Regions from separate parts of the Homo sapiens genome. Here region 2 is linked to region 1. Evidence: promoter capture Hi-C in human tissues and cell types (Jung and others, 2019). All regions are on one chromosome and are shown on one strand. The core of a region is centred on a gene start or on the middle of the fragment in contact, and the rest is flanking DNA. Distances in the headings are between cores, read along the strand shown. Region 1 holds the start of MPEG1 (macrophage expressed 1). Region 2 has its middle 7.2 kb from the start of GLYATL1-AS1.

Evidence for each region. Contacts are between HindIII fragments. The study calls those that stand out against the background at their distance.
Region 2: a fragment that was not itself captured here is called in contact with the fragment with the promoter of MPEG1 in region 1 in 1 of the 25 tissues and cell types used here (pancreas).

What each region holds. Positions count from the first base shown.
Region 1 is chr11:59,211,137-59,215,879 of GRCh38, forward strand. It overlaps MPEG1 (macrophage expressed 1), which reads right to left and starts at 1,791. Exons shown (of 1, transcript NM_001039396.2): 1 at 1-1,791. The coding sequence starts at 1,729. It also overlaps the pseudogene RN7SL42P. RefSeq lists an enhancer at 1,768-1,967. The HindIII fragment of the contact is 9,754 bases long and covers 1-4,743 here.
Region 2 is chr11:59,063,196-59,068,196 of GRCh38, forward strand. No RefSeq gene overlaps it. Among named protein-coding and RNA genes, the nearest start is that of GLYATL1-AS1, 7.2 kb to the left of the region's middle. The HindIII fragment of the contact is 5,883 bases long and covers 1-5,001 here.

The DNA.
Region 1 (4,743 bases), core at 541-3,040:
AATAGGACACTTGGCATCCATCGCTGATGAGGGCTGGGTGCTGGCTGAAGCCCCCGGGGCACTTTTTCAGAGACGGTGCCCCTAAATCTCTGGATATAGCAGGATCTACCAGGGGGTTCCCAACTGTGCAGCTAAAGAACCCGCCAAAGGGGACCGCAAACCTGCTTCCCAACTCATAGTCCTGAGAAACACATACCTTGAGGTTTTCAAAGAGTCTCAGTGGAAAGTAGCCGGCTGGGCATGACTGTGCATTTGTCATGGGGTTTATGCTCTTGCTGCTGAAGAGGCCCCCAAAAAGCAGTCCTGAGTTTTCAGGTACTTGGCTGCTGGCCACACACCAAAAAGCCCTAAATTCAGCTTTTGCCACCTGGAACACATCTTCACACACGGTCTTGCAGAAGACGAGGAGAGTGCACTTTCGATGACACTCCAGGTGGTTGTAACCCTCCTCGTGGATCTGGGATAACAGGTGCACCGGGGAGTAGCCAGAGGGGCAGGAGAAATCACCAGTGAGTGGATTCTTCTGCTCCAACTTTTGGCAGAGGAGGACATCCCTATTCCCTGAGAGCTGAGTGCATTCCTGATAAACCCCACCGAAAGAGAAGTTGGTCATTTTCCCCTCGCAGGAGCCATCATCCGTGTTGGCCTGAAAATTGAAGTTGGGAGAATTGAGATCTGTGCAGCCAGGGTAGGTGTTGAATGTATAATAGCGCTTCACAGCAGTTTCCACTGTCTTTGACACCTTCTTCACCAGGGGGCCTGGCAAGTCAGGTAGCATGTTGGGGTTGATGAAGAAATGCAGCGGCAGGCCAGAGCGGTCGATGGCCACCAGGTGGTTGGTGATACCCTGCTGCCAGGCCTGGAGGGTGATGCCTGGGTAAAAAGGAACCCCTCCAATGCTCTGCACCCTGGAGTTGGTTCGGTTTGAGAGGTAGCTCTTGGTGAGGACATTCTGCGAGGTATAGTTTTCCTCAAATTTGAAGTTCACGGTGTTTTGAAAGGCAAGTCCAGCAGAGGCGGTCACGGCACTACGACTGCTCTGGCTGTCTTGGAGGAAGGAGGCCCTGAGGTGGTCCTCCTGAATAAGAGCAGCCCCAGCGTCGACACTGGTGGTGACGTGGGTGCCATAGTTGAGCACCAGGAGTTCTGCCAGGTAGGTGGCCATCCTCGTCTGGTTGTTCTCTAGACGGTCAGAGATGTCAAGGAGTTCCTTCCTAAAACCTGAGCTTAGCTCTAAAGTTGGGTTGATTTTGACTGTGTAGACGAGGTTTCTTACCTGAACTCGGGTAGTTATAGCTTGGTCCTTCACTTGGAGGGTCTTCATCCTCTGGAACTCAGTGGAAAACTTGCCATTGACTTTGGAAAAAAGAGAGAGTTCTGTGTTGATGGAGTAGGAGGTGCTACTCTGGTAATTTGCCCAGGATTCCAGGATTTCTGAGTTCATCTCCAGGTTGCTCTGTTTCTGGGGAATGGTGAAGATTTCATCAGGGATGATATACTGTCCATCCTCTGTTGTCCTGCAGTTGGAGTAAGTCAATTCCATAACTCGTCCCATGTCCACATTCCGCAGATTGTCCCAGCCCCCTCCAGGTAGGACTTCCAGGACAGGTAGTTTCAAGGCATTCTTGCATTTTTGAACTCCAACTTCGTCCATCTCTCCCGAAGGCTTGCCTGATTTAGCCCATGCTGCCGCTGCCCAGAAGAGGATGGTGGCCCTGAAGTTGTTCATGGCTCAGACAGCCCCAGCCACTCACCAGCCCTACACAGCGGCCAGCAAGCTTTGGGCAAACTAAGATGGAGAAAACAGAAGCAGATGATGAAGCGGAAAACTCATGAGTTCTCTAAAAGCTACAAGTTCCTCTTTAAGCTAATTTAATGACAAAATGGGGAAACGAGAGTTGGTTGGAATATTAAAGACCATCAGGTCTTTGAAGAATTTATGCCGTACTAAACATGCAAACACACCCCTACATGCCTAACAGGTAGCTATCCTAATTTTTCCCCCAGCTCTGGCTGGTTACTCTGCTGCAGGGGTGTGCACTTAGAAAAAAATCCCGACCCCACACCCTACTGCTTCCTCCACCAGAAAGTTTGGCTTTGCTTTTTGCTCATTCTCTTGGACTTGATGTTTCATATTTTCCCTGACTGCTGTCTCTTGGGACTCCATTATCAGTTTTCTTTTACTATAAATGCAGAGGCAAATGACCACACCACCCTTACTGAAACACCCTGGCTCCACCATACCTATGCAAGCTGTTAGTCAAGGCCAACCCTGGGTTTCCTCTTTGCCTGAGGGTGGAGGCTGTTTCCACAAAAGAAAGGAGTGAAACTCTTGGACACTTGTCCTGTGGGTTTCACTGTTATGAACCATAGCAATTCTGTCTTTGGGGATGGCATTGTCTGGAGCACAGCTGACAGGGCCTGAAGAGGATTCGGTTGCAATATGCTGGGAAACCCCAATTTGCATTGTCCTAAGCATTCAAAGCGAGGGCAAGGAACTCCTACACTGTGTTGTTTTCATTCAGATAGAAATGTTCAAGACAAAACCACACTATTATCTAGATTTTGATTTATCAACAGCAGACAGGGGCCAAGGAACATATGTGTATGTGTACACACATTTATATATCCTCTGTGTGTGTGCATTTTGTATGAAGTTGGTACCTGTTATACCTTTAATTTTTTGTTCCATTGCTAAGTGTGTGTAATCAGTTTAGGTGGATAAAAAAGAATGTGGCTCTTCACTACCCAATATTTTTTCTAAAAGCAAAAATTCATTTGCTATATCATTAGAAGAATATAATTACATGAGTTTCTTTTCAAGTTCCAATGCCAGCTCTATTAGAGCCCATAATTTAAAACAATGGTGACAGGTTTGATTGAAACCCAACTCTGTTAATTCTTTGGGACAATTAGGCTATGTCTTAGTATGCTTAGTGGTAGCCAGGGAATCCAGAGGACTTAGTGAAGCTCCCAGTTGCATCCTTAACATTCCCAAGATTATACCATGAACTAGATACAGTACTGAGACTGAAAAAGTCATGTTGCAATTCACAGGTATCACTACACCATCACCTGTATGCATCCTGGAAGGAAGGTTCCAAGGAGTTGAATTCCTCTGTTGGTTATTAATGCAGCAAAGAAGTGTTTTTAGAAAGAATGAGGCTAGTTATCTTGCTTCCCAGGCTGGGCTTCACCAGTTATTATCAAAACCATGATGGTGTTCTATAAATCTAGAAATACTGCATTCCGGGTATATTTTTTTTTCCAAGACAGGGTCTTGCTTATTGCCCAGGCTTGAGTGCAGTAGCTATTCACAGGCATGGTCCCACTACTAATCAGCATAGGAGTTTTGACCTGCTCCATTTCCAACCTGGACCCGTTTAGCCCTCCTTAGGCAACCTGGTGATTTGCTCCAAGGAGGCCACCATATTGATGCTGAGCTTAGTGCAGACACCCAACTGGCATAGCACACTACAGCCCAGAACTCATGGATTCAAGCAATCCTCCCACATCAGCTTCCCAGGAATCTGGGACTGCAGTCATGCACCACCACACCTGGCCATTCTGGTTCTATTTGTGCCACAGTTATCATGCTTCTGGGAAGTGACACCAGCCACCTAAGAGGGATTAATTTATGAACCAGTGCCTAGTCTGTATTTGGCTAAAGAACCAAATCTTTGCACAGGATGTTCTAGTTAATTTATAAATCAGTTAGCCATAAATTTATACCTCAGCAGCATGATCCCAGAATTAGAAAAATGAGAGTTGAATGCCCTTGAGTACTTCCAATAAGTCTGTTGAAATACCTACATACTTCTCTTCAAACTATTTCTGGGATGGTTCATCAAAATTAGAATACTCTCACACTGCTTTGGAGACAAGCTGACAATTTGTTACCCTCTGCTTTCTCTTTAGTAGACCCTGTTGAGAGCTCACTCTCCTGAAATGAGAATACAAGCAAGGTTAATACAGACAATTCTATATTCAGGTGTTCCTATGTCTCCAGACGTCTAGTCACTGTATTTTTTATTCTATAGACTTTGTCTTCATTTTATCATAGGAAAAAAAAATTGAAAATAGCAGAAAGAGCCAACAACGGTAAAATTACATTGTACCCATAAGACAAAATATTGTATAGCCATCACAATTATTTAAAACTATTTTAATAACATGAGAAATTCTTATGCCATAATGTTACTGGAAAGGGTTCCCAATGCAGACCTCAAGAGAGAGTTCTTGGACTTTGTGCAAGAAGGACCAGGGCAAGTCCACAGAGTAAGGTGAAAGTAAGTTTATTAGAGAAGTAAAGAAACAAAAGAATGGCTACTCCATAGGCAGAGCAGAAGTATGTGCTGCTTGATTAAGGATACTTATCATTATTTCTTAATTATATGCTAAACAAGGGGTGGATTAATCATGAGTTTTCTGGGAAAGAGGTGGGCAATTCCCAGAACTAAGGGTTCCTCTCCTTTTTAGACTATACAGGGTAACTTCTGGAAATTGGCAGTCATGGCACTGGTGGAAACATCTTTTAGCATGCGAATGCACTACAATTAGTGTATAATGAACAATGAGGATGACCAGAGTTCACTCTTGTCGCCATCTTAGTTTTGGTGGGTTTTGGCTGCCTTCTTTACTGCATGCTCTTTTATCAGAAAGATCTTTGTGATCTGTATCTGTATCTTATGCCAATCTTCTATCTCATCCCATGACTTAGAATACTTAACCCTCTGGGAATGC
Region 2 (5,001 bases), core at 972-3,471, 150 kb before region 1:
TAAGGAGGGGTGCGGGTGGGCGCGCAGTGCCCTCCGCCCGGCCTTCAGACCCACCCGCGCGCGCGCAGGCGTGTGCTCTCATCCTTCCCTTCCCTTCACTGTCTGGAGTGATGATAATTGGCTTCCAAAGTGGATGAGAGATGAGTCATTTACATCCAATGAGGGAAAAACAGCCTCCAGAGACTCTTCGTCCATTGGCCAGTGAGAGTGTCAATTCCCAGGCTCCTGCCGCACGCGGGCGAGCCCTTCTAGGCGGGAAAAGTTCAGCTGAGAGATATAAGAGAGCAGACTTTCCAGCACCTGTGAATCCAGAGCGGTGGGCACTGACGGGCACGTGCACCGTGTGGACAGACTCTCCAGTTCTATGAGTGGTTTTTCTTTTCCCGGGTCGGACCTGGAGTTCTTAAGAGGATGGCTGACAAGGGCAGTAGGCAGAAGGACCTCAGCCCAAAGTCAAGGAGGTTTTGGATGGGGAGCTGGGCAGCCGCCCGTTGTAATTCCCTTCCCGTCTCAGCTTCAAAGGCCAAGAGTTGTACTCCTGAAAAGATACTTGGAGATCATCTGGGTGTTCCTGAATCTCAAGAGGGTCGTTTGACCCTGGTGGGTCCTTTCCCTACCCGGTGCCTTTCTCGCCCGTAGAAGGAGACCAGGTTCGGTTAAGCAGAGCAGAAACTATTCACTGATCAAGGAATGGAGTAGGAGAGCTCCTGCTCAAAGTGCCTGGGGTGTAGTGTGGGGGTGCTCCTTAAGGTCTTTTAGGGCACGTAGTTGGAAAGCAAGGATTCCTGGAAAGAGATGGGGCTTTCCAGAACCAGCTGAGTGTGGCAGTCTCCTATTTGCTGTTGCCGCCCAACACTACATGTGCCTAGCAAGCTGCATTTCTCCCGTAGGCACAGATTGAGGTATGGTAATTAGCAATTGAGGATTCAGGTTAGGGTAGCGCTTCTAAGTTCGTTTCCCATCTTGTAGCACGGTGGTTACTGACATCCAGTCTCTGTTTCTGTAAGCAAGCACAGCTTCAAGCACAGGTTACCTTAATTGGTTCTGGGGCTTTAGGAAAGCATTGAGGTCATCCTGCGGTGACAGAGGCAGCTGTTCAAAGAACTTGGTGCGAGTTTGAGGCAGGGGTTGTGGAGTGAGGCAGGTAAAAATGCAGATTCCATAGCCACACCCCGACATACTGAATCAGAGTCTGTGAGGGTGGGATCTGGAATCCTTTTTAAAAAGCTCAGAGGAACCAATTCACACGAACAATAAAAGTTTCATCTGAGCCAAAGACCTTAATCTAGAAATGAGAAAACGGGGATCCCCAAAAGGGTTACAGGGAGAGGGTTGGAGGAAAGTTAGACTATGACAGTTTTAGGGTGGTTCTTTCCTGGCCTTGGGAAGTTTTCTCAGCTGCTGCTCTGATCAGTACGCAGCTGAATGCTTTAGGGGAACCCTCTTCATATATCCGGAGTTCCCTCTCTGTGCAGGTCTCCCACCAGGGTCTGTGGCCCGTGACCTCTTGCCACCCTGGTCTCTCCGCTTTGTCTCCTCAAATCTAGAATTCCAACTGGCTTTGTCTTGCTGCCCTTCCTTGCGACACTGGCCTGGAATCCTTCAAGTTAGTCTGCTAGCGTGGATTGTAGGATGCATCTCAGTTGTCACTATCCTTAATTGCATGATGTCCAGTTCCTCGCAAAGCGTTGTTTCATATATTTTGCCCATTTTTGTTTTGTTTTGCTTTCAGACTAGGGGGAAATCCAGTCCCTGTTCTTCCATTTTGGCCAGAAATTCAAGGTAATGACTTTTAATATTTCTGACTACTAGTTCCATCATCTCTCTCACTTCTGGATCTGTCTCTATTCACTGATGTTCCTAGTCATTATGGGTCATATTTATCCACTTCTTAAATGCTTGCTGATTGTTTTATTAGATATCAAGCTTTGTTAATTTCACAACTTTGGGTGCCAGAAATTTTTACCTTCCCATCAATATTCTTGAACTTTATTTTAGTACCTTGATATTTTACATGGAAACCATTTTATAATTTCAAAGTTTGCTTTTATTTGTTAGGTGGGAGCAGAACTAGGGCTAATTTTGTCCCACTGTGGAAGAAATACCTTTCAGAGTAGTCTCTCTGATATTTCATGAATTGTGAAATTTTCTAGTCAGATTTTTGTGAACTGAATCTATTCCCTGTCCTGTATGAGCCTCAGAAATTGTTACATCTGCTCCTTTTGGGTACTTCTTTTTCCTGTTCCTTTTCAACAGCTTTATTCCACTCATGCATTGACCAAGCTGAAATCTCAAGGGATACCCACTGCAGATCTCTGATACTATGTGCTCCTGTGGCTCTCTTCTCCCTAGTACTCTGCCATACAAGCTCCAGTCAGCCTGGCCTCCCAAAACTCCAAGCTTGTCTTCTCAACTCAGGGAAACTGCTAGACTCTGCCTGTTCTCTTGCCTAAGATATGCCTTGGAAACTCCATACAGTAACCTAAATAGCCACAGGGCTTACCTCATATGATTTTCTTCTCAGATATCAGAGATGAGGTCCCACACAGCCTGATGTCCAATGATTGAGAGTTGTTATTTCACAGATCTTTCCTTTTTGGGTTTTTTTTAGACATTTCATGTGGCAGAATGAACTCAATCCTTGTTTCTCCATCTTATCCACTAGTAAATATTAGTTATATTCTCTTCGAATTCATCATGAATTCCATGAAGACTGAAGAAAACAAGTCACTTAGTGCCACAAAAGATGACCCGAGGACTAGACCTGAAGTTTCAAAGGTATATCTACTTTTTTACAACTCCTCAGAGGAGTGATAGTCTAACCATAGTGCCATATGAGGTTCTTGGAGATAAGTTCTTAAACAATGGTCGTTATAAGCCTTTCTCTTAGGTAGTTTAAAATATATTTGGGTAGCTCATACACATAAGTGCTTGTGGAAAGCATAATGATAGAGTATGAGTTAATAATGCTAAACGTGTCTTAAGACAACAAGATGACTAACAAATAATATAGACACTTAAAATCATGGAAAGTATAGACAGGCAAAAATAATTAGCTAATGTTTTCTGAGGAAACACTGTGTGCCTGGAATTGTGTCCCATCATATGGATTATCCCATTTAACAGTTAATAGAACTGTGCAGTAGTTATTATCATACTTATTTTACAAAAGAAGAAACTGAAGCTCAACTTGCTTATAGTTGCAGAAGTAACGGACTTCAAAGCAAGGATCTTAACCTAGGCAGTCAGACTACAGAGACTGGTTTTTGACCCACACTATTTTGCTCAAAATATGCAAAATGATAATACTAAATTGAGATATAAACAAGTGATTTTAGAGTACAGAGAGAAGAATACTTAATTCAGACTAAGGAAACTACAGCAGCATCATATGAGAAATGATTTATTAATGAAAAATAAATCTAAAATTGTCAAACTCATAGATGTAGAAGTGGTTGCTGGGCTGGGAAGAGAGAAAAATGGAAGTGTTAGTCAAGGGATACAAAGTTTCCTTACACAAGGTGAATAAGTTGTAGGGATCTGAACAGCATGAGTGCCAATAGTTAACACTATTGTGCACTCAAATTCTTGCTAAAATGATAGATTTTATGTTGTGTTCTTATTACAAAAATAATAAATAAGAGGGCAGGAAGAGACTTTGGGAGGTGATAGATAGGTCGATGTCATAGAATGTGGTGATCATGTATCTTCACATTCATCAAGTTGTATACACTAATTATGTACATTAATTATGCATTTGGTATGTCTAAAACTAATTTATTTTTTAAAAAGAATGAATAACATTTCACTAGTGTATCAAGGATGAAGGAATGGCCTGAGTAAAGTCATGTACACAGGAAAACATATTTGGGGAACAGGATAGCTGCATTTGATGCTATGTAAGGAGAATTCAAGAATGTGGTAGGCAAATAATGCTTTCTATACTGGTAAGGTAGTGTGGTGCCAAGATCACAGTAGGCTTTATATCAATAAGAGCTTTTCATATTGACAGTAAAAATATTTTCTACTTGTGAAACAATAAAATGGATTCATTGGTTCACCTGAGTGGACATTCCAGAATTCAGCAGAGCTCTTAATTCAGTAGTATACAGTTTCTTTGAGGACTTGTTTGTGTGTTCAGTCTCTATGTTCTGCTTTTCATGTTATCCCCTGGCTGGCTTTCTGCATAGTGACAAATACAGCTGCAGTAATATCGGATGTGTTACTCTCCCGATAATGAGTCTACCCTGGTTTCCTGAGGAAACTTCTCTTTGCCATCTTATTGTCCCAACTTAAGTAGCTCACCCATTTCAGCACAAAACCTTGTGACTCCGAGGGCACATATAGATATTCTTAAGCTGTCATGAATTCATTTCCATACATGTATGGCTCCTAAAAAGTGTGAGAGAGGTAGAATAGCTTTCTGGAAAATAGCTGCAGTATCTCCTACTTCTTTGAAATCCATGTGTAGGTTTTTGGATTTTCTTCTGTAAATAGAGGAGACGCGTTTGCCGACTTTATCTCTGTATCGCTTAGGAGGAGTTATTTAATTCACTTTAGACTTTGTTAAGTTAAATATTAATGTTAAAATGCCCAGGGCTATTTTGTTCAAGACAGTTGCCACTAATCACGTGATTTTTTTTTTTTTTTTTTGAGACGGAGTCTCGCTGTGTTGCCCAGGCTGTAGTGCAGCCCCACGATCTCGGCTTACTGAAAGCTCTGCCTTCTGGGTTCACGCCATTCTCCTGCCTCAGCCTCCTGAGTAGCTGGGACTACAGGGATCCGCCACCATGCCCAGCTAATTTTTTCTATTTTTTAGGAGAGACGGGGTTTCACCGTGTTAGCCAGGATGGTCTCGATCTCCTGAACTCGTGATCCACCCACTTCGGCCTCCCAAAGTGCTGGGATTACAGGCGTGAGCCACCGTGCCCGGCCCACATGTGATTATTTATATTCAAATTTAAATTCAACTTAACTAATATCAAATAATGAAAAAGGTGA